Regions from separate parts of the Homo sapiens genome. Here regions 2 and 3 are each linked to region 1. Evidence: promoter capture Hi-C in 16 types of primary human blood cells and fetal thymus (Javierre and others, 2016). All regions are on one chromosome and are shown on one strand. The core of a region is centred on a gene start or on the middle of the fragment in contact, and the rest is flanking DNA. Distances in the headings are between cores, read along the strand shown.

Evidence for each region. The method cuts DNA at HindIII sites, captures the fragments that hold promoters and counts their contacts. A CHiCAGO score of 5 or more calls a contact.
Region 2: a fragment that was not itself captured here is called in contact with the fragment with the promoter of OR8B3 in region 1 in 4 of 17 cell types (M2 macrophages, M0 macrophages, M1 macrophages and 1 more); the score reaches 5.8 in M2 macrophages.
Region 3: a contact is called between the fragment with the promoter of OR8B12 here and the fragment with the promoter of OR8B3 in region 1, in 2 of 17 cell types (M1 macrophages and M2 macrophages). The highest score is 5.4, in M1 macrophages.

Annotation. Positions count from the first base shown.
Region 1 is chr11:124,397,404-124,400,561 of GRCh38, reverse strand. It overlaps OR8B3 (olfactory receptor family 8 subfamily B member 3), which reads left to right and starts at 1,538. Exons shown (of 2, transcript NM_001005467.2): 1 at 1,538-1,872. The HindIII fragment of the contact is 12,656 bases long and covers 1-3,158 here.
Region 2 is chr11:124,566,593-124,569,750 of GRCh38, reverse strand. No RefSeq gene overlaps it. Among named protein-coding and RNA genes, the nearest start is that of OR8A1, 1.8 kb to the left of the region's middle. The HindIII fragment of the contact is 628 bases long and covers 1,140-1,767 here.
Region 3 is chr11:124,542,090-124,545,247 of GRCh38, reverse strand. It overlaps OR8B12 (olfactory receptor family 8 subfamily B member 12), which reads left to right and starts at 1,594. Exons shown (of 1, transcript NM_001005195.1): 1 at 1,594-2,526. The coding sequence starts at 1,594. The coding sequence ends at 2,526. The HindIII fragment of the contact is 5,500 bases long and covers 627-3,158 here.

The DNA of each region.
Region 1 (3,158 bases), core at 289-2,788:
GTCTCAAATATTTTTAAATAAATAAGTATAATAAAAAGAAAAAAAACAAAATGGTTGTTACCAGAGGCTGGGGGTGAGGGGAATGAGATGTTGGTCAAAGGGTGCAAAGTTTTAATTAGAAAGGAGGTATATGTTTTTGGAATCTATTGCACTGACTGGAGAGTATAGTTAATAATAATGCAATATATATTTCAAAATTGCTAAGAGAGTAGATTTTAAGTGTTTACACTACAGAAAATCAGTATGTGAGTTGATAGGTGTGTTAATGATCTTAATTTAATAATTTCATGATGTATACATTTATCAAAACACCACATTGTATCCCATAAATACATATAATAATTACTAATAAAAAATAAGAAAACAAAAGTTTATACATCTCTTTTAAGATGGATATTTTTGGCTGGGTATGGTGACTCACTCCTGTAGTCCCACCACTTTGGGAGGCCAAGGCAGGTGGATTACTTGATCCCAGGAGTTCAAGACCAGCCTGGGCAATATGATGAAATCCTGTCTCTATAAAAAATACAAAAATTATCCAATGGTGGTGGCATGTGCCTGTAGTCCCAGCTACTTGGGAGGCTGAGGTGGGAAGATCTATTGAACCTGGGAGGTTGAGGCTGCAGTAAGCTGTGATTGCAGCAAAGCAGGACACAGTCTCAAAAAAAAAAAAAAAGAGAATTCTGTATCCTGACTTAGGTGGTGGTTACATAAATATGTACATGGGATAGAATTGCATAGATTTGCACACACATACATACGAGCATGTTAAACTAGTGAATAAGGTCTGTAGTTTCGTTAACATTATTGAACCTATGTCAATTTCCTGGTTTTGCTATTGTCCTATAGTCGTGGAAGACATCGCCATGTGAGGAAACTGGGTGAAGAGTTCAAGGGAATCTACGTATGACTTTTGCCACTTCTTGTGATTCTAGTAATTTTAAAATAAAAAGGTAAAAAAATAGATGCCTTCTCACAAGCACAAATTCCTACCTACAGAGAAATTCTAAAGTCACACTGTCTTGAAATAACGGCCCATGAATAGTGATTTTTCTTACGGATTTGATTTTAACATGAAAGACAAAGACATGTTGAGTTAGAGCAACCCAAGGTAAATACATTTTTATGAAATAAAGGATAATTCTATGTTACACAAAATTTTTATTAAAAAATCTGAAATCAATTAAAAGTATCCCTTTTCTTTATGCCTATGAAGTATGCAAAAGTAAAAATGGATTATTTGAAAGATTATTTAAAAGGACTCACAATATTAAAAATGAGCATATAAACTTCACTAAATTATACTTACATTCCTGTTAAAGCTAATATACTACCTAGGATTATAATTAGCAAAAATTCTGACAATCATTACATTTACATCTTTATACATGAGAGCAGATGCTCTTTCTCCTATGCCCTGTGGATTGTATAATCCCTGATGAGAAATTTACCTCTACTACAACAAATTAGGCTGTAAACAAGGGCATACAATTTCTTCCCTGCAGAGTTTGTCATGGTAGGGGAGGTCCTGAGAGAGACTTACTGGGGGATATGTAATCAGGTCCAAAAGAATTGTAAGCCTTGAGCAAATGCCATGTGCTCTATGACATGGTAGCTCTGGTTTGAAGTGCAGTTTTCCAACAAACCCTCTTGGCAAATTTATAAATAATAGTTTGATCTACACCACAAAATGATTCCCAGAACATTCAGATTCTGAGATCTCTGCTCAATGCTTTTGCCAGTCAAGGGAGAAGAAGATTCTGTGACTACATCTGATCAACATAGATACCTTCACAGCCATTTCTTCCTCCAGGGCAGTGGAGGTGAAACACATATCAATGGTCAGCACTGAGTTCTCTGAGTGGAAGGAAGGTGAGTTAATCAAGTTTCTATTTCTCTCTCCTGGATGTTGCTGAAAAATGGGGAAAAGTATTCTATTCAATAGCAAGAAACTTAGTGGTATGGAGCTCTGACTCTTGGGCTTGCATTTTTCTCACACTGTTCTCTCTGTTGGCTTCATTCTTAGCCTGGTATCAAGATAGCAATAGCAGTTCCAAGTGACACATCCAGAACAGAGGAATGCCAGGAAAGGATATTTGTCTCTTTATTAAAAAATATATTGACATGTGCTATACATATAGAAGAGTTTAAGGGTCATAAAAATACCAGTTTGGTAAAATTTTACAAACTTAACAACTAATATAACTGTACCCAAATTAATTATGTTTCTCTTATGCCTTCCTACAAAGACCTGTGAAAGCACATTCAGCTTCCTTTCTTCATCCTGTCTAGCTAGGATGGAATAGAGGAGAATGTGTAGAAACACTTATGTGATTTGTATGTGGTGAATCATAAGGCTTTGACTACTAAGGGTCTTCTGTTATCACCTGGTGACTTCATGGATTCTTATAGTAAGGTATCTAGAAACCCTATAGGAGACCCCTGTCTAGGAAACAGAATATCGGTATGGTCTCTGCCCTAAAGGAATCCTCCCTTACCTGGTGGTCATCACAAGGAAACTGAAGTGTCTAGTAGAATAATGGAAACATAAGTAGAAACTAGGAAGTGGCCAGGCTCGGTGGTTCACACCTGTAATTCCAGCACTTTGGGAGGCTGAGGCAGGTGGATCATCTGAGGTCAGGAGTTTGAGACCAGCCAGACCAATATCATGAAACACTGTCTCTACTAAAAATACAAAAATTAGCTGGGATCGTGGCATGTGCCTGTAATCCTAGCTACCTGGGAGGCTGGACAGGAGAATCTCTTGAACCCGGGAGGCAGAGGTTGCAGTGAGCCGAGATCCCACCATTGCACTCCAGCCAGGGCAACAAGCGTGAAACTCCATCTTAAAAAAAAAAAAAAGAAACTAGGAAGTGAAGGGCCAGATGGAAGCGAGGGAGATGAGACACATCCACATAACCCAAGCTCAACAGCAGGTAGGCCTGTGCCTCAGCTACTCCACCTCTCTGTCTTCTAGTAAGGACAGGAGCAATTGTTTGTCACATTCAGTCTGTACAGACAAAAGACACTGACTGAAATGTTGAGGAGTGGGAGTGGCAGTACATTCAGAACATTCAGATCCCATGAAACAAAGAAGTCACCCAAATTCCTACAGCCTGAGTCCCCTCCTCATTAATGAGATTTTGTAAAAAGAAATC
Region 2 (3,158 bases), core at 204-2,703, 170 kb before region 1:
ATTAATCAGAAACTCTGGATATGGGGCCCAGCAATCTATGTATTAACAATCTTTCTGGTGATGGTGTTGCATAGTAAAGTTTGAGAATCTCTACATTGTAGATAAGTAGTATATTTCATATTTTGTAGTTGGGGATGGATTTTGCTTTAGAAATAAACTTCCTTTGTCATGTATATAATTCCTAAATATTCACTGAATGTGAACATGTAAATACCTATCTGAAATTTACGCAGTGTCAGGGTGATAGGGTAGTTACAAGCTGTGTCATTGGCTGACACATCAATTTCTATGTCTGAAAGATGAAGAAATTAATATTGATTCCAAAGGTGGTTGTAAAAATAACACAGGATAATGCATATTTAGAAATCTTTTTTCAAATACTCAGTGCCTATAAAAAATGTGAATTGTCATTAAGAGTCTGGAATTTGTTCTTAATTTCTTACTTGACCTGAGGTCCTAAGGCAGTGGTTCTCAGCATTGGCTATACATTATAATCACACGGGGCATTTACAAAGGATTGATACCTGGGTTCTACCCGTAGATGTTCTGATTTAATTGATCTGTGGTGCAACATGAGCACTGGCCCATTGAATGTTCCATACTAAGTGCTAAATAGCTAATTATTATTATTATTATTTTCAGATCATAATATCAAACCTTTGTCCTATTACATCCCTGATGACAAAGTATTCAAATTACAGGCATATCTCCAGGAAGCATGAATAATCATTGCTGGATACAATATGTATAGACAGTCTTATCTGTGGGATGTATTTCTTAAGCTATAAAACATATTACCCCTATTTTAATTGCTTCCTTATGTAATTACTAACTTTTGCATAATGCTTTACAGCTTACACATTTCTTTCAAAGGTCGATCTCATTAACTTCTGAAGTTTTCGGAAATGGGGAGAAATGTGTTTAGGGAAGGATTTTTATTTTCATGTTTGTATTGAGAAAACTGAGGTGCCAGACACTAAGTGATTTGCCCAAGGTTTACTAATTATTGGTGACTTGGAACTCAAACTTACCTCGGCTCTGTCCTGATCATGAGTTTCCTCTTTTGCCTCACATGTGCAGCCTTGTAAATCTGCACACTCACAGCTCTTAGCAATGTATGATTAAAATAGGTTTAAGCTTGATATCTTAGTATATGCATAGCATAGGAAAAATGCTGTATTTTGTTTCGTTGTCTAGGAAATTGAAGCTCTAAAAGTTAAATAAGTCACCCAAGGAAACCCAGCTAGTAAGAGGCAAAACTGGGCCTAAAACCCAGGACTTCTGACCACCAGTGTGTTTTGTCTCCACTAAACTAAATTGTTTTGTTTTAGCGTATCTTTGTGTAGCACTTTATTATTATTTAATAACATTTAATTTATATAATTTTTGAAGATAGAGGAAAGATCTATTGCTAATTTTGGATGCATTTAAAAAAATTATAAAGGCAATATATAGGCATTGTAGTGAATTAGAAATGCAAATAAGCAAAAATTTAAAACAACCATTTTCCACCACTTGGAACCAAACGGTGGTAGTGAATATCCTTCTAGACTTTTCCTATGCATATATGTATTTACATGTATATAAATATATATGTATTTTTACAAAAACATTTGTAATCTGCTTTTTAAACATAGCATTCACAAATGTATTGTCTCATTTGATTCCTATAACTGGCACTAACTGTATTCTTTTTTCTTAGAAGTAAGAGTCTTTAAAATCATTAGGACGTGGTGTGAAGACAAAGTCTGAATTGCATTGTAAGCTTTTATATCAAATTATTGGTAATGAGGCATTTAACTTTACAATAACTAGTATGAGAGGTAGCTAAGATTTTTAAAATTCACGTTAAGCATTCCCAATCTGAAAACTCAAAGTCCAAAATCTGAAACTTGTTGAGGGCCAACATGAACCACAAGTGGAAAATTCCACACCTCCTCTCATGTGACTAGTCTCAGTGAAAATACAGTCAAAACTGTTTCATGCACAAAATTATTAAAAATATGGTATAAAATTACCTTCAGCCTATGTGTATAAGATGTATATGAAGCATATATAAATTTCATGTTTAGACTTGGATCTCATCCTCAAGATATCTCATTATGTATATACAAACATTCTAAAACCGGAAAAAAATTCGAAATTCAAGACATTTCTAGTCCCAAGCATTGTGCATAAGGAGTTATTCCCATTTATTACAATGGAAATAGAAATGTATTATTTTCATTTATCACAAAGAAGAATTTTTTTCTAAATAACAACAGTAGATTTAAAAAGTTTTACATATCCTTTTTTACCCAATGTCTGCCTCTTAAAATGAAAGGAAACACCCAACTTGAATAACTATAACTGTAGATCGTGTGCTTTACAAAGCAGTGTGGAATGAACACTGTTCACTGAGTGCACAGCAGGTGGGAACACCATTGTGTAGGAGAACGCTAGACAGCACTGATTTAACGTTTCACTCTCATAGTCTTCTAATAACATGAAAGAGGCAAATATAAACCACGTATTTCTTTTACTTTCCTGTTTTTCCTCTTTTTTAAAGACAGAGTCTCATTCTGTTGCTTAGGTTTGAATGCAGTGGTACGATCATGGCTCACTGTAACCTTGAACTCCCAAGCTCAAGCAAGCATCTCACCTCAGCCTCATGAGTAGCTGGGACTACAGGTGTATGCTACCATGCTGGGCTACTTTTTAAAATTTTGGCTACAGATGGGATCTCTCTGTGTTGCCCAGGCTGGTCTCCAACTCCTGGCCTCAAGCAATTCTCCTCTCTTGGTCCTCTAAAGCTCTAAGACTACAGGTGTGAGCCACTGTGCCTGGCCAAACCATATATTTTATATTAGTTACTACAATTATTACCTTTAGTTTCACTAAGCCATAAGAGCCTTAGGATAACTGCCAATGAGAACACAGCACACAGATTAAAAAAGCACATAGTGGTGAAAGTAAATATATGGTTGTAAATAGTCTGCATCACAAACAAGAGTTCATGGAAGAAATATTTTTCTCAGGCAATTGCTTTAAGTTTGTAATTAAATACCTGTGATGAGGAAAAATAAAGCACAGTCTGCTGGAAACTTTAAGGGCTGCCTTGGTTTCAACAATCAGAAAATGCAGGAACCATACTGATTTATACTGAGTCCTACATTTAC
Region 3 (3,158 bases), core at 345-2,844, 140 kb before region 1:
ATTGAATAGCCTATTCTAAATTACAATAGCCCTTTGTGTTAACCTTTCCAGGCTCTAATTGCTTCCTTTTAAAACTTAAATTCATTGAATATTTACTTGTTATTTTCCAAGAGACTGTCAGATCCAAGAAGGCAAGGGCTCTGCTTTATGGATTTCAGTAGCTGTCCTTGGGAGGTAGTTTAGTCTAGCAGCTACATAAGGGGCTTGGAGTCAGACAGACCTAAGCATACCTGTGGACTCTGAAACATCTTGTCTCTGTGAGCAACTTACCTGTAAAATAGGTATTGTGAGAAATAAATAAAGATATGTTTGTATATGTGTACTCTGGATCTTGGCAGCTGGAATAAGGGTACTATGTCAGGTACTAAATTATTGGGTATTCAAGAAATGGTAATGACAATCATTTTTTTCACAATGATTTTCTCTTAATAGTACAGGATACATGTTAGTAGAAAGCCAAATCAAGCAATTCCAAGAGATAAACAAACATTTCTTCTTCTCTAGGGAAACTAATTGCTAAGCAAGTGGTCTTGAGGGAGTCTCTATCTTAATGGCCAGATCATTGAGGTCTGTAATCCAGAATAAAACTCTTTAGTCTTTTGTTATTCACTGGTCAGGAAAAAGCTTTGTCTCCTTCCTGGAAGCTGGAGAGGCCTTTGGGCAAATGAACAATTGGAAGTCATGTCCTTCAGTGCAGGAAGTGTTATGAGATACATTAGAGGTTCTGATCCTTTGACCTGTACTGGGAAGAGAGGGCTTTGAGCTCAGATCTGTCATCTTGTCTTCACTAGGGTCATCTTCCTCCCCAGAATGTGAAAAAGAGGCAGTAGAGTATAGCATTTATGGCTCTAAAGGGAAGGAAGGTGAGTGCCTGCCCCGATGCTGGTCACTTATGTAACATGGTGATTTCAAGTGCAAGCCATTTGAGCCATACTGCCGAAATTCACCTTCTGGCTGCAGGTGGTTTGGGGACTTTTGTCTAGTTATGTCATCTTACTTGTTTCATCTGTAAAATGAAGATAATAATATTGCTACATGGCTCTTCAAACAGAACCTCTTATAGTAACCACTCAATAAGTGTCAGCTTTAAAAAATTATTAAATGTACAGCCACTTGAGCTAAGAGATCTTGGAAAAGCATGAGCTCACCTACTTAATCTGACAGTGTGGACCCAGAGGTGGAAGCTCTGAGCAGAGCCACTGTGGCTTCTGCATCTCAGGATTCCCTTCAGGGAAGAGGTCCAGGTTTTACCAAGTGAAGCAGAGACAGGAGAGGGAAAGATATAGAAAAGGGACTGACCTAAGGATCTAAAAGACATTTGGATTATTTTTGGTACCCCTTTCTTCAGCAGATCCAGCTCTCATTCTGCAGTTACAGTTGAGTCTCATATTACACTTTGGGAGTTATAATCACTCGGACTGTGAAGATAGACCCACAGTGAGTGGTAAAAACCTTCCTACCAAAGTTCAAATCTCTCTCCTTGGATTCCTTTTCTAAGAATGGGAGATAGAGACTAAGAATGTGGTGGTGATGTTTCTTTCTAAGTGGTCCTCTTCTCTTGTCCCCTCCGACTCTCCTGCCTGACCAAAAAGAATGGCAGCCAAAAACTCTTCTGTGACAGAGTTTATCCTCGAAGGCTTAACCCACCAGCCGGGACTGCGGATCCCCCTCTTCTTCCTGTTTCTGGGTTTCTACACGGTCACCGTGGTGGGGAACCTGGGCTTGATAACCCTGATTGGGCTGAACTCTCACCTGCACACTCCCATGTACTTCTTCCTTTTTAACCTCTCTTTAATAGATTTCTGTTTCTCCACTACCATCACTCCCAAAATGCTGATGAGTTTTGTCTCAAGGAAGAACATCATTTCCTTCACAGGGTGTATGACTCAGCTCTTCTTCTTCTGCTTCTTTGTCGTCTCTGAGTCCTTCATCCTGTCAGCGATGGCGTATGACCGCTACGTGGCCATCTGTAACCCACTGTTGTACACAGTCACCATGTCTTGCCAGGTGTGTTTGCTCCTTTTGTTGGGTGCCTATGGGATGGGGTTTGCTGGGGCCATGGCCCACACAGGAAGCATAATGAACCTGACCTTCTGTGCTGACAACCTTGTCAATCATTTCATGTGTGACATCCTTCCTCTCCTTGAGCTCTCCTGCAACAGCTCTTACATGAATGAGCTGGTGGTCTTTATTGTGGTGGCTGTTGACGTTGGAATGCCCATTGTCACTGTCTTTATTTCTTATGCCCTCATCCTCTCCAGCATTCTACACAACAGTTCTACAGAAGGCAGGTCCAAAGCCTTTAGTACTTGCAGTTCCCACATAATTGTAGTTTCTCTTTTCTTTGGTTCTGGTGCTTTCATGTATCTCAAACCCCTTTCCATCCTGCCCCTCGAGCAAGGGAAAGTGTCCTCCCTGTTCTATACCATAATAGTCCCCGTGTTAAACCCATTAATCTATAGCTTGAGGAACAAGGATGTCAAAGTTGCCCTGAGGAGAACTTTGGGCAGAAAAATCTTTTCTTAAGAAAGGATTAGTATTGGAGGAAGGAGATACAATGCTTTGCTTATTAGTGTGTGTTTTCAGTGAGATTCAAGTTCCATTTTTTTCCTGTCTTGTACAGAAAAAGAATTTTAAATCTTTACATTTGGATGAGTGTTAAGTGCAGACATATTCTCCCTGTCTCTGCTTCACCTAGTTATTCCAGGATTTCTTCATTTTATGCAAATTTTTCTATAATCATAGACCATTTAATCGTGAATTGGCCTTACACATTATTTAATCTAGTCTCTTCAATTAACATGTGTTGGAGACTCAGAAATACATATGTTGCTCAAGGACACACAACTACTTGGTGCCACAACTGGGAATGGAATCCAGGTCCTTGAATTCCAGGCTGCTTTTTTTTTCTTTATGTCATTTTTTCATGCTTCATTGCTGCCCTTGCAGATATCCTTTTAAAAGTAAGAAAACTTAACACATTAAAACCTAATTCTATTCATAGTAATTTAATGTGACCTCTCAATAAATAATTTTTAAATATTTCATTTTTTTTCAAGAGGATAGAAGATGAAACATTTTCTTAAGTTGGTCTTCACCAAATGAGAAGAGAATTGTGTCAAGTTTGTAGAATGTGACTGACATTGAGTTAAGATTGA